Regions from separate parts of the Homo sapiens genome. Here all the other regions are linked to region 7. The links are contacts of gene promoters, found by promoter capture Hi-C in blood cells and fetal thymus (Javierre and others, 2016). All regions are on one chromosome and are shown on one strand. The core of a region is centred on a gene start or on the middle of the fragment in contact, and the rest is flanking DNA. Distances in the headings are between cores, read along the strand shown. Region 1 overlaps SMCHD1 (structural maintenance of chromosomes flexible hinge domain containing 1). Region 2 overlaps NDC80 (NDC80 kinetochore complex component). Region 3 overlaps DLGAP1 (DLG associated protein 1). Region 4 overlaps DLGAP1 (DLG associated protein 1). Region 5 overlaps DLGAP1 (DLG associated protein 1). Region 6 overlaps DLGAP1 (DLG associated protein 1). Region 7 holds the start of MYL12B (myosin light chain 12B).

The links. Contacts are between HindIII fragments. The CHiCAGO score rates a contact against its expected background, and 5 or more counts as called.
Region 1: a fragment that was not itself captured here is called in contact with the fragment with the promoter of MYL12B in region 7 in 1 of 17 cell types (neutrophils); the score reaches 6.9 in neutrophils.
Region 2: a contact is called between a fragment that was not itself captured here and the fragment with the promoter of MYL12B in region 7, in 3 of 17 cell types (activated CD4 T cells, neutrophils and naive CD4 T cells). The highest score is 5.6, in activated CD4 T cells.
Region 3: a contact is called between a fragment that was not itself captured here and the fragment with the promoter of MYL12B in region 7, in 4 of 17 cell types (erythroblasts, M1 macrophages, M2 macrophages and 1 more). The highest score is 7.1, in erythroblasts.
Region 4: a contact is called between a fragment that was not itself captured here and the fragment with the promoter of MYL12B in region 7, in 4 of 17 cell types (monocytes, erythroblasts, M1 macrophages and 1 more). The highest score is 6.8, in monocytes.
Region 5: a fragment that was not itself captured here is called in contact with the fragment with the promoter of MYL12B in region 7 in 1 of 17 cell types (M0 macrophages); the score reaches 5.6 in M0 macrophages.
Region 6: a contact is called between a fragment that was not itself captured here and the fragment with the promoter of MYL12B in region 7, in 1 of 17 cell types (erythroblasts). The highest score is 6.0, in erythroblasts.

The regions. Positions count from the first base shown.
Region 1 is chr18:2,669,204-2,672,433 of GRCh38, reverse strand. The region is part of intron 3 of SMCHD1 (structural maintenance of chromosomes flexible hinge domain containing 1); the gene reads right to left. Among named protein-coding and RNA genes, the nearest start is that of SMCHD1, 15 kb to the right of the region's middle. The HindIII fragment of the contact is 3,598 bases long and covers 1-3,230 here.
Region 2 is chr18:2,602,526-2,605,893 of GRCh38, reverse strand. All of the region lies in intron 13 of NDC80 (NDC80 kinetochore complex component), which reads right to left. Among named protein-coding and RNA genes, the nearest start is that of NDC80, 33 kb to the right of the region's middle. The HindIII fragment of the contact is 2,954 bases long and covers 1-2,935 here.
Region 3 is chr18:3,863,842-3,867,271 of GRCh38, reverse strand. The region is part of intron 4 of DLGAP1 (DLG associated protein 1); the gene reads left to right. Among named protein-coding and RNA genes, the nearest start is that of DLGAP1-AS3, 13 kb to the left of the region's middle. The HindIII fragment of the contact is 7,229 bases long and covers 1-3,430 here.
Region 4 is chr18:3,882,099-3,885,224 of GRCh38, reverse strand. All of the region lies in intron 3 of DLGAP1 (DLG associated protein 1), which reads left to right. All of the region lies in intron 1 of DLGAP1-AS3 (DLGAP1 antisense RNA 3), which reads right to left. All of the region lies in intron 2 of LOC124904238 (a long non-coding RNA gene), which reads right to left. Among named protein-coding and RNA genes, the nearest start is that of MIR6718, 1.7 kb to the left of the region's middle. The HindIII fragment of the contact is 3,134 bases long and covers 1-3,047 here.
Region 5 is chr18:3,839,482-3,842,865 of GRCh38, reverse strand. All of the region lies in intron 4 of DLGAP1 (DLG associated protein 1), which reads left to right. Among named protein-coding and RNA genes, the nearest start is that of DLGAP1-AS3, 37 kb to the left of the region's middle. The HindIII fragment of the contact is 557 bases long and covers 1,524-2,080 here.
Region 6 is chr18:3,898,906-3,902,175 of GRCh38, reverse strand. All of the region lies in intron 3 of DLGAP1 (DLG associated protein 1), which reads left to right. Among named protein-coding and RNA genes, the nearest start is that of MIR6718, 15 kb to the right of the region's middle. The HindIII fragment of the contact is 1,272 bases long and covers 726-1,997 here.
Region 7 is chr18:3,260,426-3,263,614 of GRCh38, reverse strand. It overlaps MYL12B (myosin light chain 12B), which reads right to left and starts at 1,482. Exons shown (of 4, transcript NM_033546.4): 1 at 1,378-1,482. MYL12-AS1 (MYL12A and MYL12B antisense RNA 1) reads left to right here and starts at 1,256. Exons shown (of 4, transcript NR_130145.1): 1 at 1,256-1,562; 2 at 2,285-2,343. RefSeq lists a silencer at 937-1,826 and an enhancer at 2,037-2,086. The HindIII fragment of the contact is 3,443 bases long and covers 72-3,189 here.

The DNA of each region.
Region 1 (3,230 bases), core at 417-2,916, 590 kb after region 7:
CAACACAGTGAAACCCTATCTCTATTAAAAATACAAAAAAATAGCTGGGCGTGGTAGCTGGTGCCTATAATCCCAGCTACTCGGGAGGCTGAGGCAGGAGAATCGCTTGAACCTGGGAGGCAGAGGTTGCAGTGAGCCAAGATTGCACCACTGCACTCCAGCCTGGGCAACAGAGCGAGACTCTATCTCAAAAACAAAAACAAAAAAACCAAAGTAGCACTCCAGCAAGCACTTCTACTCACCCTAAACACTCCAAGGACAGCTATGTTTATAAACGAATTGCAAAGAAGTTACCACAAATCAGATTATGTACAAGGGTAATCTGGCTAAGGTAATAACTCCAGAAAATGAAGAAGGGACACTGTAGGAAATGGCAGGAAAAGAAACCTAAAGAGAAATTTGGAAGGAAGAAATGAGTAGAATTTAGAATCTGATTAGATGAAAAAGAAGAGGGGAAAAAGAAATTTGCTTCATCACACAGGTACAACAGTTAAGGCTTGGATCAGTTTACTGAAAGTATAAAAAGAAAAGATCAAGGCCAGGCGCGGTGGCTCACGCCTGTAATCCCAGCACTTTGGGAGGCCAAGGCGGGCGGATCTTCAGGTCAGAAGATCAAGACCATCCTGGCTAACACAGTGAAACCCCGTCTCTACTAAAAAAATACAAAAAAATTCGCCAGGCGTGCTGGTGGGCGCCTGCAGTCCCAGCTACTCAGGAGACTGAGGCAGGAGAATGGCGTGAACCCGGGAGGCGGAGCTTGCAGTGAGCCGAAATAGTGCCACTGCACTCCAGCCTGGGCGACAGAGCGAGACTCTGTCTCAAAAAAAAAAAAAAAAAAGAAAAGAAAAGATCAACATAACTTGAAGAAATGTCCACCAGAGTCAAAAAGAACCAGAAGTAGGGAAACAGAAGTAGGGAAAGACCCGGGAATGTACTGTAAAGTCACAGAAATCAAGGCAAGATTTTAAACACTGGGGTTTTCTGCTTATCCATATAATGATGGTATGAATGAAAACTGATACGGTTTTCAACTGATATGGTTTCAACTGATAGGGTTTTCATATCATTTCATAATGATGGCATGATGAAAACTGATCAATATGAAACATAAACTACATTAAGAGTTTAAAATACTTCTGTTGACTCTATAATTATACACTTAGCAATTTATCCCCAGGAAAATAATTAAAGATTCATGGGCCAGGTGCAGTGGCTCACGCCTGTAATCCCAGCACTTTGGGAGGTCGAGACGGGCAGATCGCCTGAAGTCAGGGGTTTGAGACCAGCCTGACCAACATGGAGAAACCCCATCTCTACTAAAAATACAAAATTAGCCAGGTGTGGTGGTGCACGCCTGTAATCCCAGCTACTTGGGAGGCTGAGGCAGGGGAATTGCTTGAACCCAGGAGGCGGAGGTTGCGGTGAGCCGAGATCACGCCATTGCACTCCAGCCTGGGCAACAAGCCAAACTCCATCTCAAAAAAAAAAAAAAAGAATTAAAAGATTCACTCAATTTTCTTTTTTTTTTTTTTTAGATGCAGTCTCCCTCTGGTGCCCAGGCTGGAGTGGCAGTGGCATGATCTCAGCTCACTACAAGCTCCGCCTCCCAGGTTCAAGCGATTCTCCTGCCTCAGCCTCTCGAGTAGTTGGAATTACAGGCACCCACCTCCACGCCTGGCCAATTTTTGTACTTTTAGTAGAGACGGGGTTTCACCATGTTGGCCAGGATGGTCTCGAACTCCTGACCTCAAGTAATCTGCCCGCCGGGGCTTCCCAAAGTGCTGGGATTACAGGCGTGAGCCCAGCCAGATTCACTCAATTTTAAAATATTTAAGCACCTATGTGCCAGGCATTGTTCTAGGAACTGAATAAAGCAGATGAAGGTTCTGTTCTTAGGGATTTAACATTCTAATGGAGGAATATGGGAAAGAAAATATAATCATAATAAATAAATTCTATAGCATGTTAGAAGATGGTTTGTGCAATAGAGAAAAAAGAAACAGCAGAGAAATGAAATCAAGTAACAGTAAAGACACAGAAGGAATACAGTTGCAATTAAATAGACTAAGTTTTGTTGAGAACACAACAGATAACCAAGACTTGGAGGAAGTGAAGAAATGAGTGCAGGGCTAACTGGAGGAAAAGCATTCCAAGCAGAGGGCCCTAAGCTGAGAATATGGATGGCAGTGAAGGGGAGTGAAAAAGTAAGAAAGGTAGTAGAAACAAAGTCAGAGAAGTACAAAGCAGAGCTAGTAAGTCCCTGCAGGCAACTGTAACGACTTTGGTGTTTACTCTTAGTGAAATGGGGAGCCATGGGTGTTTTCAGCAGCGAGTGACACAATCCAATTTCTCAAACCTTTTATGGACAGGGATGAAAAGACAGGTACCAGTAACTACTAGTTAGTGTAATCTGGGTGATACAATGGTGCCTCCAGACCAGGTGGTAGCAATAGAAATGGTGAGAAATGGTCATTTTAAGATAAAACATTGAGAATAGGACCCAAAGGATTTTCTGTCAGATTAAGAGGTATGAGAGGTATGAGAAATACAAGTATCAATTTGATTTTTGGCCTGTGCAGCAGGAAGGACACAGTAATAATCAATTCAGATAGGGGGAACTATGTGTGGTATAAAATTCAGTGAGCAGATGAGGGTTCCCATTTTAGACATCCTAGAGGAGATGCCACATGGGCAGCTGGATGGATAAAACTGGACTTCAAGAGATAAACCCGGCACCATTTTCAATATTTAACTAAAAATGACCATTTCCTACCTCTTCCTTGTGAGAGTCACTTCTGTAATGATGTTATTTAGAACCATGAGATAGGACCTGATCACCAAGTGAGGAAGTAAGATACAACATAAAGGGCAAGAACTAAGCCCTAAGGCACTTCAATATTAATAAGGTGGGGAGAGAAGAAAGGGCAGGCAGTGAGGTAAGAAGAAAATCAAGGTGCTTATAATCCCACGGCTTTGAGAGACCAAGGCAGGAGAATAATTTGAGGCCAGCAATTCAAGACCAGCCTGGGCAACATAGTGAGACTCCATCTCTACAAAGAAAATTTTATTTTTATTTTTATTTTTTAGAGAGAGAGGCTCACTCTGTTGCCCAGACTGAAGTGCAGGGGTGCAGTCATAGCTCACTATAGCCTCGAATTCCTTGGCTCACTCAAGCAATCCCCCTGCCTCTGCCTCCCAAGTAGCTAAACAAGGCATGCACCAAAATGTCC
Region 2 (3,368 bases), core at 209-2,708, 660 kb after region 7:
AAACCAAAACTGAAAGAAAAAAGTGTTTTTCAAGTTCATTTCCTGTTGGCAAGTGCTGATACCAGTTGATGTCAGCAATTAATAGAGAATGTTCTTCAGCTATACCAAGAGGAAACTGTTTCCTGCAGGAAACACAAAAGAGTAAAATGTATAAATAGCTGACTTTTTTTTAAAGGATAATTCTACACACATATGAAATTAAAAAAAAATTTAGGGGTTCAAATTTAGTGAAGCTATTATTATTTGCTACAAAACACAGGGTAGTGACATATACAACTAGCATACGCCCAGAACTCAAAACCAGATCTAACACCAAGAACTTTTTCTAAAGGTATGTTATATCTGCAGTAACTAACAAGTTAAACGAGTTGTTTTAAATTCACTTGTAATAACAACAACAGATACTCAAGTAACCAGAACTTCCACTGATTCTCATGGTTGGTCAAAAGCATGTTTACTCATCTCTGAGCAGCTTCTACTTTCCATGTCAGCATTACTAAAGCTGCATTAATTACTTAAACATTTTTTTCTGAGTCCCAAAGTACACATTTCCATTGTGTACATACACACACACACACACACACACACACACACACACACACACACACACACACACACATACATATAGCCCGCCCGACTCCAATTGCCTACTGGACATTCTCCACTTTGATGCCCCAGAGACCTGAAACTCAGCATATCCCAACCTACAATTCTCTCTTCTATATACTTCTCTTTTATATTCTTTATCAAGGTAAAGAACATCACCACATACCCATCTGCCAAAGATAAGACACCTGGGCATTCTTGATTTCTTTCTTGACCTTCACATACAAATGGACAACCAAACTGTTGTTTCCATCTTTAAATCTCCTTTCTCCGTCTTCACTGTAATAGCCTTGCTTTGGGTCCCTACCATTTACTATTCACTGTATAGGATATTGATAGGTCTCTTAATTGCATGGTCTCGTCTCATGCACCTCTCATCTATTCTTCAAAAGGCCAACAGTGTGAAATTACTAAAATAACAATAATTATTGTTATTTCCTTACTTATAAATCTTCATTGATCTCTACTGCCTAAAGAATACAAAAAAATTCAACCAGTAAGGCAAGCCCCTTCATAATTAGGTTCTTGTCTCTCCAGGCTTCTCCCTTATCTCACTTACACTCATGGTAATTTACTAATATGCTGTGCTCTTTGTTTTTTCTTTTTGGAGAAAGGGTCTCACTTTGTCACCTAGGCTGGAGTGCAGTGGCACAATCTCAGCTCACTGCAGCCTCCACCTCCAGGGCTCAAGCAATCTCCCACCTCAGCCTCCAGAGTAGCTGGGACTACAGGTGCATGCCACTACATCCAGCTAATTTTTATATTTTTGGTAGTGGCTGGGTTTTGCCATGTTGCCTGGCTGGTCCTGAACTCCTGAGCTCAAGCCATCCACCCGCCTTGGCCTCCCAAAGTGCTAGGATTACAGGCGTGAGCCACTATGCCCGGTCCATGCTGTACTCCTTGGTCTCTGGTCCTCAAGGTGTATGTGTGTGTGCATGCATGTGGATGAACATGAGCATCCTTCTGTGTATCCATTGGCCAACACCTACTTGTTATTCACAACTCAGCCCAGCTATCACTTCTCTCAGAAGGAGCCTGTACTTAAGTGTATTATGAGAATCCACAGTGCGCTGTATTCACATTACAAAAAGCTATGATAGAAGAAATTGTTTTCATGCCCATCTTCCCACTTAAAATGAAGTTCACAAAGGCAGATGCTGCACTGTACTAGTATCACCATCTATTACAGTACTAGGCACATAAGCACTCAAAAAATATTTGCTGCATAAATTTCAGTTTCAAATATTTAACTTTAACCTTTATTTACATTCATATTCATAAGTGTGATTAGCTTAATTTCTTCTTTTTGTAATATCTTTGTCATGTTGTGGTATGAGGCCTACATTAGCCTTATAAATGAATTAGGTCTCTTTATGCTCTATGATAATTTACATGTCACAGAAATCATCCAGTCTTCAGTATTTGAAAACAGTGACCTATGAAATTATCCGTTATTGGAGTCTTTTGAAGAGCAAATTCTCTTTTTCACTTTGGTTTCTGGTTACTTACATATTTTGACTTTTTTGGGATTTCTATTGTTCAGGTTACAATCCATTTCATCAAAAAATTTTAAACATAAATTTCTGTTTATACTATATTACTTCATAATTCAAATAAATTTCCACCATCTCTATAAACTATTTCTCATTTTATATTTTCCTGCTTTTTCTTAAATGGTTTTGGCAATTATTTTAAAATACTTTTCAGGTTAAATGTTTTGTTACTCTAATTTATTAATTTCTTTATAAACTTTATTATTTCCAGTTGCATTTTACCCCATCCCATCTTAACTTAAACTACTTGTCCAATAGGAAAAACAATTTTAGTTGTTAGTCTCTGTATGACATTACTGATCTCTCCCTTCTTGAAAAGTTTTCCCTACTTTGGCTTATATATATTACATAGGTGTATATATATATATATATATATATGTATAAACATATTCTCTTCTGTTGTTCTCCAACTAATTTTGTCCACTTTTTCTAAGAGTTTTTCCCAGAATCTCCTTCCTTTGCCGGTCCCTTAAATGTTGTTACTCTTTAGGATTCAATCCTCTGCCACTTTCCCCTCCACATTCATCCACATATATGGCTTCAACTATTACATATGCTCTAATGACCATCAAATCTGTATTTTCAGCCCTGATCTCCTTCTTACACTCTGAATCTATAGCTTCTGCTTCCTCCTGGATATCCTACAGACAGCAAGCTCAACATCTCACCACACCCTACTTTAAGTTTTCCTCCTTTAGGTTAATAGCACTATGATTCACTCAGTTGCCCACATCAAAAATATGGAAGTCATGTTGATACTTCTTTCTCCTCAAGCTTGCACATGCAGCCATGAAATCCTTGGGTTCTACCTCCTTAACATTTCCTAAACCTGTTTCCTTCCCTCTAGTTCTAGTATACATTGGTTTAAGTCTCCTAACATTTTCAGTTGCATCCCCTCTAAGCCATGTTTTCCTGTAGCCCAAAGGGTTTTGTAAACCTAAAAATCTGATGAGCATAACTGTACCTATGTCAGCCTTTTTCTCTATATGGGAGTGCCTGAAGGATGTATTTATCTCTAGGACACTAACATGGGTCCTAGTCTATAGTAGCCATTTTATAACTTTCCCCCATCTATAGCCTTTAAAAAGTTCAAGACAGTCTAAAAGATGTTTTAGATATGAAGTTCCTGTTGTTTGGAATTCATACCTTTTGAGAATCTCCAGGTTTTAGTACCCATTACAGCAAAAAACAGAAATCAAAATGAAGCAG
Region 3 (3,430 bases), core at 577-3,076, 600 kb before region 7:
AGTTGTGGAGAGAGGCGGGGAAAAGCAGTGGCACTCAAAAGTCTTCCTGAGCTCCTCTTATTTTCAAGTTATCTTGATGTTACCCACACTGTGACTCACAGTGTTAATAACACTGATTCTGGCTGGGCGCAGTGGTTCACACCTGTAATCCCAGCACTTTGGGAGGCCAAGGCGGGCGGATCACGAGGTCAGGAGTTCAAGACCAGCATGGCCAACATAGTGAAACCCCGTCTCTACTAAAGATACAAAAAAATTAGCCGGGTGTGGTGGCATGTGCCTGTAGTTCCCAGGTCCTTGGGAAGCTGAGGCAGGAGAATTGCTTGAACCCGCGAAGCAGAGGTTACAGTGATCCAAGGTAGCACCACTGCACTCCATCCTGGGTGACACAGCAAGACTTTGTCTCAAAAAATATATATAAATAAAATAAAAAATAACACTAATTCCACACTTGATGGATATTCAAGACATTTCCTTCCAGTCCCAGCCCCTGCCCTTTCCACTCTGGTGGCTGGATCTAATTTGCTGTGGCCTACGCCCTGTCTATTGCTAAAGTTTCTAGAAAGAGCATCTCATTATGCCTTTCTTTATTAATTTTCCAAGAACACACACCATCAATAGAAGCAGGTGTCTGGAACAACTCAAAGTATCACTTAGCCCAGTGCATTTTGTACTTTTTAACCACCAAAGTCTGTGTTCAAATAAAGCAAAACATGTAAAACAATTTAAAACAGCACTACTCACATGGACGCAAGAACAGGAGGTTTCAAATCTAAATTCTCTCCCCAAGCCACCCCACCCCACCCTGTACCTGGGCTGTCTATAATTTGAAAACTACTGCCCATTCCTTCCCTATTAATCAATCTAAGCTGTCTAAGAAAGAGTTTAATGATCCAGGAGGGAAACTTCTGTATCTGTTCTTAATAAGCCCACTCTTAATAAATGAGATCAATCGGAAAACTCTGATAAGTTCCCCCCAAAAAATTGGGATCTGTATTCTGAGCTTGGAAAGTTATCCGTCCCCAGTGTGGTAAGTTGTATTAGCAGCAGCAGCAGCAGTCCAGACTGCAGCCCTGGTGCCCTGCCCTTCATTAAAAAGACAGCAATTGATCCTGGGACTCCAGGAGTTCCTGATTGACTCAGACTACAAAATCACTTTTGGGCTTTAAGCTCTGATAGACAAATTCTTATGTTACCTTCATACCTTTTCTCCAGCTGTGACCCAAAAAAAGAGGAATTGACTTTTTTAGGAACACACAGGCCCCTTGACTCCCAGGCTAGTGCTCTTTCCACAGCACCATACTGAACATCTTTTCATCTCCATCCCATGCTGGATCCACTTTTATGTGACCATGACTAAGAATAAGATGAAGATGGGGTAAAGGGAACAAGAAGGAGAGTAAGAAGAACTTTAACTTACTAAGAAGGTTCTATGGACTTGTGTTTACCATACATTGTTCTTCTTACATTGTCTTTATTTCTGGAAGTTTCTGGGGTAGCCGTTCTGACCCCTGTTTTATATGAAAAGGAGGGTATTAAATTTGCTCAAGATTATTCTCCTAGTAAGTGACAAAACTGAGATTTAAACTCTGGCCTGTCTGATTCCACAATCTGTTTGCTTTCCACCATAACATGATGCCTCTGCTTTGCAAATATTTCCTTTGGTCTTCTCTTGAAGGATTTTTAAATGAGAATTTCTTTTAATAACAATTAAAAATGAATAATTATGGTTTAAAAAACAGGTTCTACTTCTATGATTAGGTGTAAAACTAAATCTAGTTTGGAAAGTAGTCATGTTTGAAAACAAGTAATATATGAGGTTGATTTGCAAAGTGAGATATATAAAAAGGTTGTAATAGGACATTATTTCATGTCAGTGGAAATGTATATCTCAACCTATGAAAGAACCTTTACTCAAGGCTCCTTGTGTTTATTTGCTTGTCTGTTTCAACAAGAAACAATACTACTGACCCCATGAGACTGCCAGCCTAATTGTAGTTATAACATTGTTAATAACACTGTAAGGTTCTTACGGACAAATATGCACTGTCTGCCCATTTAATATTCTTTGCTTAATTTAATTTTGGAATGTCTGCTTCTGAAATGATTAGGAAGTAAACTAGGAGTCTTCAAACCCAATTAAATTAAACCCAAACCCAAAATCCAGACTTACAGAGATAAGTCAGTGTGATTTTATATTTTGTCTGTCCTTACTTTTTGGGAGACCAGATGGTTATCTCTCAGCCTACTGTGAACCAGAATTCTGCTTGGTACATGAGCCTCATATATCCCAGAGTGTTAACTAAGTGTTTGGGAGATTTACCCATTTTACTATTTGTTAAATTACTAGTCCAGGTTTGAAGGAAAAGATATGTTTCTCTAAAGATCTACCCTTAGAATGTTGCGTAATTACCCATCAAAGTAAAATTGAATTAGTGAGTCATATACTATCCAAGGTGGAACAGTTACATGTGCCACCTTAGAGGTGGCTGCAGGTATCCAGTGCATAAACGGTGCTGTTAGAGAATATCAGTAGAGTTTATATTAAATCCTTATAACAGACAACAATGCAGAATAGTAAGACTTCGGAAGTCTATCAGAATAAAGGTGCCATTCTCAGTGATGAACTTAGAAGTCAAAGTCAATGTAGTCTTCATAATCCTTCTTCTTAGCTGGTTTTGGGTATTTCCTCATGTACATGTATCACACTGCAGATAGTTCAGTGTTCTATAGCAAACTCTTGCTTAATTCTCTCCCCTCTTTGTTTAAGCCCAGATGAAGTTAATTTAAAATAAGGGTTAGTCCTAATATGGCATGTTTAAAAGCCTCCACTTCCTTTTGGTTCAATGTTTTATAACATATCACCATGCATAAGAATGAAATATTAATTATTCACTTAACAGGGACTTCTAAGGAACTGAGAAGTGAAATAATTCCCTAAAATTAAACCATGCCAATTTGATCTCTTGTATGTTTTTGAAGGTGTTATTAGATGAATAGATGAATAGAACTAAGCGTTGCATTTCTTCGCTTCAACCCATCTTGATTCTACCTGTTGTAACATGTATTCCCCTCACATTTTCTGTCCACAAGCATATAATGAAAAATTCTGTTAAATGATTTTATAATACTGTCATTCTCCCTGAGTCTTTTATTCAACCAAGATTTCTTTAGCACTTGTTTGACCCAGACTGAACTCTGGGGGCAGTGGCCAGATAAAAGCAGGAGGGAAAAGACCAGATGGGTAGCTGACCACTCAGCTGGTAGAAATAAGCAAGTGGAGAACAGAATTTATTCCTAGTTGACAAGATAATACAGGATTTTATTTTCTAAGGTACCCAAGTTGCCCAAAGATGGAAGATATGGTCTAGCCTGGAGGCCAGGCCAAAGGAATTTAACCTCTGGGCAGCATTTCTCAGGGGAACCAATGGTA
Region 4 (3,126 bases), core at 231-2,730, 620 kb before region 7:
AAAAAGAAGTGACAGAGATAAATGTGCTGGAAAGGGAGTTTAAGAGTAAGGCAAGAGGAAAATGAAGAATGAGAGAAGGAAGAGCAGGACCTCCATAGTAGGTGCCACCAGCAATTGTCTACCCATTGCCAATGGCCTTAGGATTTTAGATCATTTGCCCTTGCTCACCAAGAAGTCACAGAATGTGTTTTCTTTTATAATCACAAATTGACCTATTTTCATTTTAAAATGACAAGACGATAGAAGAGAGTGTAAGATTTGTTACAGAAAGGGCCATGGTATTAAGTTGTTTATTTGGCCTTGACCAGAAAGATAGATTTAGCATTTAGAAATGTTTATTGCCATTTTTTATGACCTTCTTTTCCCACATCATAGAGAAAAAAGATCAAGATCTCAATATCTCTTTTACAAATACAAGTAAGGAAGGAGGAATGTTAGCTTATTTATTCTGGATGCAATTTGTTACCCTCCAAGAAAATAGAGGTGCTTGTCCTGTGCTGAAAATAGCCCAGTTAAATTTTAGTAAAAAACACACTGTGTATGATTAATTTACAGAAATTATCATTGGTTACATCATTTAACTTAAATCATCATTAGTGGCCTTAAACAGCTCTTCGTTTGCTCTGCTTGTCCTCAGGTAACGTCATCTTGCATGGAATGTTGCTCACATATTAAAGATAATTAAATACTGAATACCTGATTAAAATAATCTTGTATATTTTGGAGTAAACATGTATAATTCATGTTTTCAGCTCTTGCCAGTTTCACATTTTATTTAGCAGAAAATATCTACCCAAGATTCAAACTGCTTGAGAAGGAAAGTTCGAAACATTATTCCACATCATTTTATATATTGAGATTCTACTATATGTGATCATAAAAGTTAGTATGTGTCTATAATCCTAATAGAATCTTGTTTTTGCTTTTTATAAGTCTGTATTTGAAAGGCAAAAATGTCCTCAGTGGAACCTGATTTGTAGAGAGAGACTTTCTTATGCAATGGATTTTTGCATCTAAGTTAGTTTGTGCCACAGTTTTGCTAAAAACACATACTTAACCCTCTTACATTCTTCCTTGCCACAGCCTACTTTTAGGACCATAACTTCATACAAAGCAATCCCAAGGTTTTCTGTTTCATTAGTCTGTCACCAGTGGACACGTTTTTTACCTATCGGTTCTTCCTTATCCACAGGTATCATAAGTCCTGAATTCCTTTTTTGTCCCTTCAAGAGTCAGTTTCTCTCTCTCTTCCAGGCGGATTGCCCTCTGTCTAAGCATCCTGTAGTCAGCAGGTTAGGCAAACTCCCCAGACTTTACTTCCAGACAGGTAGAACGGCAGAAGGTACGATATTGCCCAGTGAGTTGCAGAGTTAGAAGTCAAAGGTATATAGGTCAGAAGGAGTGTTCACCAGTCTGCTTCCTGCCTTGCTCTGAAGACTGGTCTTTGGAATGGTCACCCTGATGGAATGGTCCCCCCAACTATTGGGCATCTTTCCTTGGCCTTGCCCAGCCTGGCCTTTGCCACACAGTCATGTTTTCATTAAACAGATGCTACTTGAATCACACTATGAACCACTTTGGGAAATTTTGCATTAATGCATTAAGTAATTGAGTAAATATTCTACTAACTTAATTCCCACTATCCACTAGGATAGCACTTTGCCAAATACTAGGTGGGTGAAACATAGTCCCTACCCTTAAGGACGTCACAATTTAGTAGACTAACAAATTTTGAGTGACTGTACTGATTAAAACCTTTCATCATTATTCCTGAATGGTCAATCCAGAAACTGGGAGACAGGAGGAAGAAAGGAGCTTCACAAAGCATGGATAGAGATTGCCAACATTGTCATGAGCGCTCCCAGATGCAGTATGTCTCATGGAATAGACAAGACCTGGCCTCTCAAAAATCTTTTTTCATGAGGTCCAGTGTGGGTGTTTTATATGTTTGTTTGTTTTTGTTTGTTTGTTTGTTTGTTTTGAGATGGAATCTTGCTCTGTCACCCAGGTTGGAGTGCAGTGGCACGATCTCGGCTTGCCGCAACCTCCGCCTCCTGGATTCAAGCAATTCTCCTGCCTCAGCCTCCCAAGTAGCTGATATTACAGGCTCCCGCCACCATGCCCAGCTAATTTTTGTATTTTTAGTAGAGACGAGGTTTCACCATGTTGGCTAGACTGGTCTTGAACTCCTGACTTCAGGTGATTCGCCTGCCTCGGCCCCCCAAAGTGCTAGGATTACAGGCGTGAGCCACCGCACCCAGCACTATATGTTTTGTTTCTTAATTAAACCACATATCTATCTCTCTAGGAATATCTGAAATGACATTAGTGATATTTTAGAGAGTCATGTTGGCTTTCCAAGATGACTCTTTATATGGCAATTTTTGTATTGTAGGAAGTCTTGAAAGAAAATCAGGCTGTCAGAAGGAACTTGGTCAGGCACTGACTCTAACACTGTTTTGGAGTCCAGAGAAAATACTCTGCCCTGATGGAATAGCAGCCTCTGTTAGTTACTAAAACTCCGGAAGATCCGAGCTTGGAAATGGACTGAGATACCCTACATGGGATATGAATGAGTGACTTTTCCCTGAGGCTGAGCTATTAGGTCTGGGGTCCTTCACTCATGTCCTCAAGAACTTTTCAAGGGCCATCCTTTGGTCATTTTGCCATCGGCTATTAACTTTTTTTTTTTTTTTTTGAGACAGGGTCTCATTCTGTCACCCAGGCTGAAGTATAGCGGTGCATTCACAACTCATTGCAACCTCAACCTCCTGGGCTCAAGCAATCCTCTCCCCACTTGAGTAGCTGGGACTACAGGCATGCACCACCACTCCCAGCTAATTTTTTTTTTTTTAAAGACTGGGTCCCACTATGTTTCCCAGCTTGTCTCAAACTCCTGGGTTCAAGCGATTCTCCAACCTTGGCCTCCCAAAGTGCTGGGATTACAGGCGTCAGCCACCACGCCTGGTCTTGTGCGTAAATACTCAACCAGAAACCTTAAACTAGGAAGAAGAGATATATGATCCTCAAATTAGCCTAGTCAAGCTTAACTTGTTCTCTGTTTGTTTAGAGAAAGCTCTTGACCCTCAATTGACAGAAATACCTGGGCAGATTTTCTCTACATTT
Region 5 (3,384 bases), core at 553-3,052, 580 kb before region 7:
CATCTATTCTCACAGGTTGGGGTACACAAAGATATCGAGGTTACAAAAATAAAGGCATGACACAAAAACCTATCATGTCAAAAACTGCACTCAGTATCTTCCCAAGAGCCTGCTACCCCATGTTTCCTACCCCTGTAAATGGCACCACTATCTATGCTTTTTTTTAACGCTGAAACATGGGGCCAATCTTGATACCTCTCTCTATCTCACCCTCGTGTCTCTCCTCTAAGGCAGACTCATAAAAGTTAGTTGAATGAATGAATGAGTGGAAAAAAAAAAAAACACCAAATCTTATTTCTGTCCACTTCTCGCCATTCCTTTTGCCACGATCCCAGTTAAACCTCCATCATTTCTCAGCTAGACTATTGTAAATATCTCCTAGTGGTCTTCCTGCCTCTAGTTTCTCCTAAATCCAGTTCATCCTGCACATTATAGCCCAAATGATCTTTCTAAAATACAGATAAAATCATTAAATCTTCTGCTTAAAAATCCTTCACTGGTTCCTCTTTACCCTTGGGATAAAGTCCAAACTTTTAAACATGACTTAGAGAGTATGATGTAGCTGGGGACCTTTTTCCTTCACAATCTCATTTCCTAACACTCCCTCTGTCCACTCTGCATTTCAGCCATACTGGTCTGCTTTTCTCTTTCTTAGCAGTGCCATGTTCTCTTGCCCAGGACCTTTGCATGAGCTGCTTCCTCCTTTGTCTCTTCTGCCTGCCTACAACCCCCTCCACCCCTCACCCCCCACCCCTGCCAAACTCCTCTCTTCCCTACTTAACCTCTTCCCAACTTTCCAGTCTCATCTAAGATAATGTTTCCTCCTGGAAGCCTTCTCTGACTGGCCAAGTTTAAGTGAGGTATCCTCTCCCAATATGCTCTCATAGCACCCATCATTTCCTTATCATGCTTCTTCTATCTTAGGTAGGATTGCCTGTTTTCTTGTTTGACTCTTCCACTAGATCGTTTCATGAAAGAACATAGCTGGTCTCTTATTCATAGTTGTGGCCCGTGATCCAGCACCATGCCTGGCACAGAGTGAATTCTCTCTGAATGCACTAGTAGCTAGCTGGACTCTTTAACAAGCTGTATTACCTTTTGTCTTGCTGAGGTTGCAGAAACCAGATGCAATGATTTTTTATGCTACTCATTCCTGCAAAGTACTGTGCTAAGGTGGTTCATATAATTTCCTTAATCTTCGTGTTGTTGTTCCCATTTTGTAAATGAAAGAACTGAGGCTCAAGTTGTCATGTATGATGCTGATATTAAGGAATGGGACCCTCAGTCTGTTTGACTCCAGGGACCAGTTCTTTCTATTTTCCACGTGATTTACTGCCTCCTTAGAATAAAAGAAAAAGTTTATTCTTAAAAATGTATAAGGATCATTTTTTAAATCCTTAATTTCTCACTGCCTGCCAGTGTTCATTTGCCTTCTGATCTCCAATAGTCAGCCCTGAGTGTATTTTTCCCTTAAATTAAACTGAAAGTACTTCCCTTTGTGCTGTATTCTTTATTCTCAAGCTTTCTTCTTCAAGCCTTATGTCTACAGGAGTTTTCAGCCTTTCTCACTTTCTCTACAGAGAAAGTAGCTGGGCCTTACATTTCTGTTTCATTTCCATTGTCCTTTTAAACAGGCATTATTTTCCTGGACCTGCTCTGTGATTACTGTTTCCATAGCACTTTGCCTGAACTCAGTTGGCCCTTCATGTTCTTCAACCGTAGCCTGATGTCAGACTACTTAGGGGGGCTTCCACTGGTATTTCACTGGGGAAGCAAACTGCTACTTGTTACCACTTAACCAGTTAATTAGCTATGCTCTTTGTGGAAGAAATATCTACAAGTACAGCTAGAGAAGAGACATGTGCAGTTTCTGGGAAATTTTCCATTTTGTGTTGACCATGAGAGTTTTTAGGTTCCTTTAATTCAAACCAGAACACAGACGCACACAGTCAGCTGGAAAATGTGAGAGGCAACAGGGTGTTCCGTGAATGAGTGACAGCTTTCCAGTTGAACAGACCTAGATTTGAATGCTCTTTCTACCACTTCTCTGTCTATATGACTTTACTAAATTACTAAAGCTTTCTGTGCCTCAACTGCTTCATCTGTAAAATGGAGATAATGATGGTGCCTATCATAAAATAATGCCTGGCACAGAGTAAGTACTCGATTAACAATGGTGTTAGTGTGGGTGGTCGTAGTTAGTGGAATAGAGGCTCCAGATGGGGCCACACTCTAATCTCAGGAAACTGAGGATGTTACCTTATGTGGAAAAGATGACTTTGCAGATGTGATTACATTAAGGATCTTAAGGTGGGAGATTGTCTTGGATTATCTGGGTGGGCTCTAAATGTAATCACAAGTGTTCTTTTAAGAAGGAAGCAGAGGGAGACTATGTGGCCGTGGAAGCGGAGAGAGATTTGAAGATGCTTTGCTCTTGGTTGTGAAGATGGAGAAAGGGACCATGGGACAAGGGGAAAAGGCAGGGAAATGGATTCTCCCCTCGAGCCTCCAGAGGACGCCCAGCTCTGCTATCTTGGTTTCAGCTCAGTGAAACTATTTTGGACTTCTGGCCTCCACAACTGTAAGAGATTAAATATGAGATTTTTTAAGCCACTGGGTTTATGGTAATTTGATGCAACAGCCAAAAGAATATAGTGGTGATATTTTGGGAAATGAAACATGGCTCCAAATGAGCTGATAAAGAGGAATAAGATGTTAATATAAAAAAGATGATATTACAGGGTTAAATGTGGAGTAGAGAGGCCCTCTAAATATTATATGTGTGCCTAAATACGTGGTCAGAGGAATTGCAACGCTGGCGCTAGAGGAAGTCTAGAAAGAGAGGGTTTTGAAGGAGTAAAGCCATTTGTGGGGCTTTAGACATAAAGAGAAGTGAGGTCTCCTTGAGAAGGGAGGTGATGCCTGGTGATTCAGGGTGGGGCTGACAGCCAGGGTGTCTGAGCAGATGGCGGAATGTCCTGTTCAGAAGAGAGTGATCAGCTCAGAATAAAGGCTGGTTTGAGGAATTTCCCTGGGCAACCAGGCATGAATCTTAGAAAAGAGGAGGTGTGTCCCAGAAACAAAAGGAGCTGTTTTCTATTGTTCTCAGTGCCATGTTGGTGATAGAAAGAGGCTGTTCAAGAAAATACATTCTGAAAAAGACCTCCTGGGTCTTTAAAACAAGTACAGACTATTAGCACAAGCTGAATACCTTCAACAGAATCTGTTTCTAGCAGTACCCTGAGAGGCCCTAGGTCCGAAGTGAAGCTTGCTGCTTCCCATGAGTATATATAGTGCCTGTTTATGTGCTCATGTTTCTGTTCCCACTTCTGTACTGCCCTCCTCTCTTCTCTTTGCCCAGTTGCCAAAGTCTTTCCCATCACT
Region 6 (3,270 bases), core at 112-2,611, 640 kb before region 7:
AAGGGGTGTTCAAAATACACAATCAATTTTTTCTGCTCTGCCTGAACTAAAAGGATTAAAAGAGAATGGAAATGGAAATAACTTTCTCACTGTGAAATTCAATGCTGGTATTGAGGTTCTGTGCTCTAGGCAGCTACTGTGCTGGGAAGTGGGAAGGCAGACATGCACTTCACTTTATTCTCTGAGAGCTTGGTGGAGCGGAAAGACAAGCCCACAAATGAATGTTGCAAAGTGTGAGAAGAAAAATCTCAGAGTACCACGGACACCTTAGGGGTCTGTTGGCCAACTGAGAGGTTGAGGCATTCCTATTAGACTTCTCCTTCAGCTCATTTTCACTTGGGAATTATATCCTAATTCTAGGGTTTAATTTAATTGCCACTCCATATGTATGGATTGCTTCCCTCTCATTGCTCAGAACTAATGTAATAACCCATTTGGTTTTCTGAAAAACACAATTAAGGAGGGGGAGATTTCTTAGACTAAGCAGAAATGTTAAAGTAAAGTGAAAATACCCCATGTAGGTGGTAAAATATTGCCACCCATGAGGATGTAGGGGACTGTGGGTCAGGTGTCAGATCCTTCTCCCTCACCATATCTATGTGCTGACATAGGTGAGCAATCACATGTCTCACAGCCAGCAGCATGGTGGCCAACATCCCTAGGGAACCAGCTCCAGGGTTCCTTCATGTGGTTCAGCTTTTATAGTATTGGGAGATTATAAAGCTTGTTATTGACAAGCAGTGGACGGGGTGTAAAGCAGAAAGTGTATTGTCCTTACGGGTAACCGTGGTCACCCCACAGTGGGAGAAGAGAGGATGAGAAGGAAGGAAATGAGTGTAGGAGACAATTGCAGAGCCTTACTAGATTTGGACAGAGCTCAGTGTGAAAAGTGAATGAGAGATGGTGGGCAGAGGAGCAGTTAAATTTTGAAGGATGAGTAGGAGCTGTGTAGGCAGGGAAGGGCATTGCTTAAGTGGAGGACGTAAGCACCATCCTCAAAGTCGTAAAGAACAGGGAGCCAGGGTGGGTAAGGAAAACTTCAAGTCGTTTGGTGGTTGCAGCCCAGGTTTGAGGGAGCAGCAGAAGGGAGTAGGGATGAGGGTGGAGGGCGTTCACAGCAAGATCACGAGGGGCTGTCAAGCTGCGCAAGGGTCCTAGTCGTCATTTTGAAGGGAATAGAGACCGTTTTGTGCAGGGAAGGGACATGATCAGATTTGGAAGTTAGAAAGATCATCCTGGAGGACGGAAAATAACGAGGTCGAGGGGGAGATGGGAGAGGCGAGGTGGCTTGGACAGAATATCTTTTAAACCATTTCTAAATATCTTTCTCCTTGTCCTTTTTGTTATCAGTACCCGAAACCAAATAAGGAATATCCAAAGGCGGGATTCTGTTACATCAAACTCCCACATTGAAGAAAATAGCTTTCTGAGGCCAAATTCTTTTTTTCCTCTAACCAACCCAATCTAATCTAACACAATCATGTGTGATTCCTCCTGCATCCCAAGGGCATAATGTTCCTCTTTTACAAGTCTTGGAGTATCCATTTATTTATGAGATACAAAAATGAGCCCACAAGCTGATAGGCTTTCTTCCACTCCTTTTGTTTTATTCATTCAGGGTTTACTGAGCGCTCACTCTGTGCCTGGCATTGGGGTAGTTGCTGAGCAAACAAGTCTGACTGTTAAAGAATTCTCGTTAGGAGGGAAGACAGAATAATGTGCAAATAACTACTCAGTAGTGAAGCAAATGTTTAAAAGGTGCTAAAGTGTTATTTCCAAAGGACCTGGTGCCCAGAAATACAGACATCTGTGCTGGAAAGTGGAGAGATAGTTGGGGGTCCTGAGGAGGGAGCTGATGAGAAACAACAATGTCGGTATCAGGGCAGACAGAATTGTCATCAGTTACCTCAAACTTCCAGTAACTCACAGGAGAGACACGCTGTGTTGCCAATATCAGATTCCCTTTCCACATCCCCTGTTCAATTATTTTATAAGCTTTGGGGTACAGAGTACATTTCTTCGGTACAGTCCTCCATTACTTATGGGTCCAGTCTTACAGCTTATCTACCTGCCACTGGATTCCAATCCTTTTTGCAGAGTTCATATTTGTACTTATAAACATTTGTCTCCACAATTTATTTCTTCAGGATTTTTTGTTTGTTTGTTTTTGGTTTTGTTTTTTGTTTTTTGTTTTTGCATATATGCCATGATGCAGAGCCATTCCCAGGGTCTAAACAAAAATCAACCTTGATAAAAAGTTTAAGTTACCTAATTCTAACAGGACACAGGATGTTGATCATGTTTTTAAAAAGGTGAAGTAGCAGCCAGCTATACGCCAAGGATCTTAGCAGGAAAACTTGCAATTTATAGCGCTGATTTTTCCTACCAAGCTTCCCCAGAGGAGAAAAACAGAGGGAGAGGGAGAAAAAGAACAATACATTTCTAAGCTCACACTGGCGGAAAGTGGGATAGTAAGAGAAGATGGCTTCCTTCTGGTTAAAGATGCTATGGTAGAAGGAAACTAGACAGAAATTCAAAGCAATGGGAAGGACATTTTCTGAAATTGGACCAAACCTGGATACAGAGTGTAAGGAGAATAAGAAAGCAATAGCAGCCCGAATTTTGAATCTCATTCCCTAAGTAAACATCCAAAAGGTTTCCTCAAATATGAAGTTAATGATTTTCCTGCAAGCAACATCCTTTTAACATTCTTGCTGTTGCCCAAAGCCACTTCTCTGACTTACACAGGTACCACTCATTCTGGCCACAGGCACTCTTGCCAGCGCCAGTTGATCATACTCAGATCTGGTCTGCTGGAATATAGGCTGCTTGTTTATTTGTCTGGGAGATGAAACTTATAACCATACTTCAGTGGAGTTTTTTCCTGACACAGATTTGGGTAAAGGAAGCAAACCCCTTCAGCAGTCAGAGGAAAAGCTGCCATGGGCGGAGGTTGCTAGACAAACACCTGTCAATGCAGACTGCCCATAGGATGCCACCCAGTGAAGTGTTCATTGTGGGCTCATTTCCCCCTCCTTATTTCTTTCACTTGACTTGCAGGTCTTTGCTCATAAGTGTAGTGTAGGATGCCTCCCTGAATGAAGTGAATTGCCTCCCACCCTGTGCCAACATAAGCAGATGGTGAGAAGTGGCCATACGGAAATTGAAAGCTGCAGGTTAAGCTGAGAGGTGTGAGCATTTTGTATGGAGAAGTTCATCATTTCCTCCAAATTGCTAGAATCCTTTACTTTACTTTACTTTACTTTAAAT
Region 7 (3,189 bases), core at 233-2,732:
TCTTTCCTAACCCTAGCAACTCTTGTCTGGACATCTGTCCTTCAGAAATTGCAGTTCATCTTGTTCAAGCTTAGTTTCATCAAAGCATAAACGAACATCGAGTCAGCCATCATAAAAGCTGTTTCACTCAAAAGAGCCTAAAGCACTCAAAAGTGCTCTTAGTTATAAAGTCCAGGAGGGTCCACCACCTTCGACAAATTACCTCACCTCTCTGGGTTTCACTTTCCTCAGTTATAAAACGCAAAGCCTTCACAAGGTAATCTATCAGGTCCTACTGAATTCTAAATGCTTTGATTCTTCTCTTACCAAAAGACCATTCCAAATCTACCTTAAACTAAAGCGGCCAAACGAATCCTCTAAACATCCCTTTCTTATTACTCCGTTAGTGAAGACTCCAAAATTACTCTCTATGGCTTCTTAGATAATCTTTTCTTTCTCCTAAGTTTTCAAGACATCCATAAGAAGGTCCTACTTACCTATCTACCCTTATTTCCGACTATTAGTCATTACAGTTCTGTTCCATACCCGCCGGTGTCCCCACGGCCTGCTTTTCACAGGACACAATTCCCAGCTTTTGAGTTTTGCTCGTTACCACCTCCCACACATCTAGCCGGAAACGCTAAGTTCTCCCTCTTAAGGTTGAATCCAAGGCCTTCAGTGAGGTCACGACTCTTTTCCAAGTAACCTTTCCCTATTTCTGTTAATGGTCCTTTCTTCAATCAACACGAATAAACTAAACCTTTACAAGATGCAAGACACACTGAGCGAATTACAACTCTATGTAAATCATCACATTTGAGCCCGTATCAACCACACACTCGGTTACCGGCATGCTAATGGCTTCCTTGGAGGCTTCACCTTAGGCAAGACCGTGCAACAGGAGGCTCCTCCACCCTCCAAAGCATCTAGGATAGTGTTGGGCACAGGGCAGGTGCTCCACACGAACACGCCCGGGTCGGCCCCAATCCACCGCCAGGACCCGCCGCGGCGCCGGGAGGGCAGGCGTTGGCCGCCGGGCAGCCGGGCCGTCCAAGGCCCAGGTGTCTGAGGTCACCCAGGTGGCGCAGGGCCGGCCCACGCACGGCCGGGACCCGGCCACTTCTCCAGCAGGGCGTCTCCCCATACCGGCTCCATCGCCTGCAGCCTCCCGGCCCCTGGACGTCCGGGCCAGGGCCTCGCCACCAACCCTCCTCCCGCCGCCAACCCTCCTCCCTCCACCTCCGGCCCCGCGCCCCCTTCTCAGCCAGTCTGACAGGTCCTGCCGCCGCCTGGCCGCCCTGGGGCGGGGTCCGGCCGCAGGCGCGCGACGGGAGGGGGCGCGGGGGTACGGAGACGGCGGCCCGAGGGGTCTCGCGAGCAGAGTCGAGCGCGACTCACCCGACGCCAAACACCAGAACCGGGGCCGCCCTGCGCGAGACCACAAACGACAGCGAAGAGCGTTAGGCTGTGGCCGGACAGTGGCGGCGCCGACACTTCCTGCCTGAAGGGGCGGAGCGGAAGGCGCACCGGAAGGCGCACCGGAAGGCGCACCGGAAGGCGCGGCGGGACCAAGTGGAACGGGGGTGCGCTGAGTGTTCGCGCCCGGGCCGGCGGGGTCTGCGTGTCCGCCGAGCGGCGGGGCTGCTGAGGCCGGACGCACACGGCCGGGGTCTTAATTGCCCCTCCGGCCTGCTCCGATCCGCTGCGATATCGCGGCCTGCGCTGCGGCGGTCGTCCGCAGCCCGGCCCTCGTCCCCCGCTCCTTTGGTAGCTCCGCCACCCTTCCGCATTCCTGGGCCCGCTGGGCGCGGCTGGGCAGGCCGCTGGAATTTGACCCGAGTGGGCCGCGATCGGCCGAGGATTTGGGGTCCCCTTTGACCCAGGCGGGGCGCGATCCGCCTAGGATTTGGGGTCCCCTGGCGCCGAACCCTGAGTTGCCAGATGTAGCAAGTAAAAGTACAGTTCTTCTAAATTTGAATTTCAGACAAGACAGGTTTTAGGGTTCGTCTCATGTAATGTTGAGAAGGTGAGGGCGGCGCCTGGGCGGATTCTTCTCCGTTCCAGAATCCCTTTCTCTTTTCAAACCGCATTACAGCCCGAGTTAAATTCTTTAACCTACTCCTCTCTGCTTACCCTCATAAGGTTTACGGCCGTATCAGGCTACGGCCGCAGCCTACGGCTGTTTGATTCCCCTTTTGGCCACAAGAAAGTTTTATTCGAACTACTTGCTTTCCTTTATCAAGAAAATGGCAACGCACACACATACATGCACACACAAATAAAAACACAAAGCTACGTTTTTCAGGTTTTGTTCTAGATCGTGTTTGTGGCTGTGTTCTTCAGGATATTTTCCCTCACCTTGAGGTAATCTAGCATTACTTCATCTAGCATTACTAAAATAGCATTACTTCAGGATGGTGGAGGATCGGCAATCTAATAGCAAATCTTTATTGAACTCTTCTTACTGCCTTAACATGTGCCGGATGCTGAGAGATGAATTCAAAGCCTCTTAGGGAGTTTATATTCTAGAAATCTTTGATCAGAAATTCCTAGAAGAGAGGGACCTTGTGTTCAGCACTCTGTAGCAGTTCTTAAACAGTAGCACGCATAATAACAGGGCTTTTAAAAACATTTTTGAGCCTCAAAACCGGGTATCAGGATTCAGTGAGTAAGGGGTGGAGGATAATTCGAATTTCTGGTAAGCACACATGATGCTGATGGGGTGGTCGCCATCCCAGCAGCACAGCTCTAAACGCGGTTCATAACTGTGTGTATTTTCTCAATAGTGTTAGAAAAGCAATTGCTGAAAAGTCACACCTGGTTCTACAATATTTACTCTTAGGTTTTGGTTCGATAGTCTAAATTAAAAAAAAAAAAGTTTCTAGAATTGTGCTGTCCAATACAATCGTCACTAACCACATGCAGCTAAACTTAAATTTAGTTCCTCAGTTGTATTTGATACGTTTTATTTTTAGAGATGGGGTCACCCTATGTTGCCTAACCTGGAATGCACTGGCTATTCACAGGCGTGATCATAATGCACTACAACCTGGAACTCCTGGCCTCAAGCGATCCTCTCACTTGAGCCTCCCAAGTAGTTGGGACTACAGGTGAGAGACACCGCACCAGTGCGTCTGGCAGTATTAGACACTTTTTTTTTTCTTGAGACGGAGTCTTGCTCCGTCGCCCAGGCTGGAGTGCAGTGGTTTG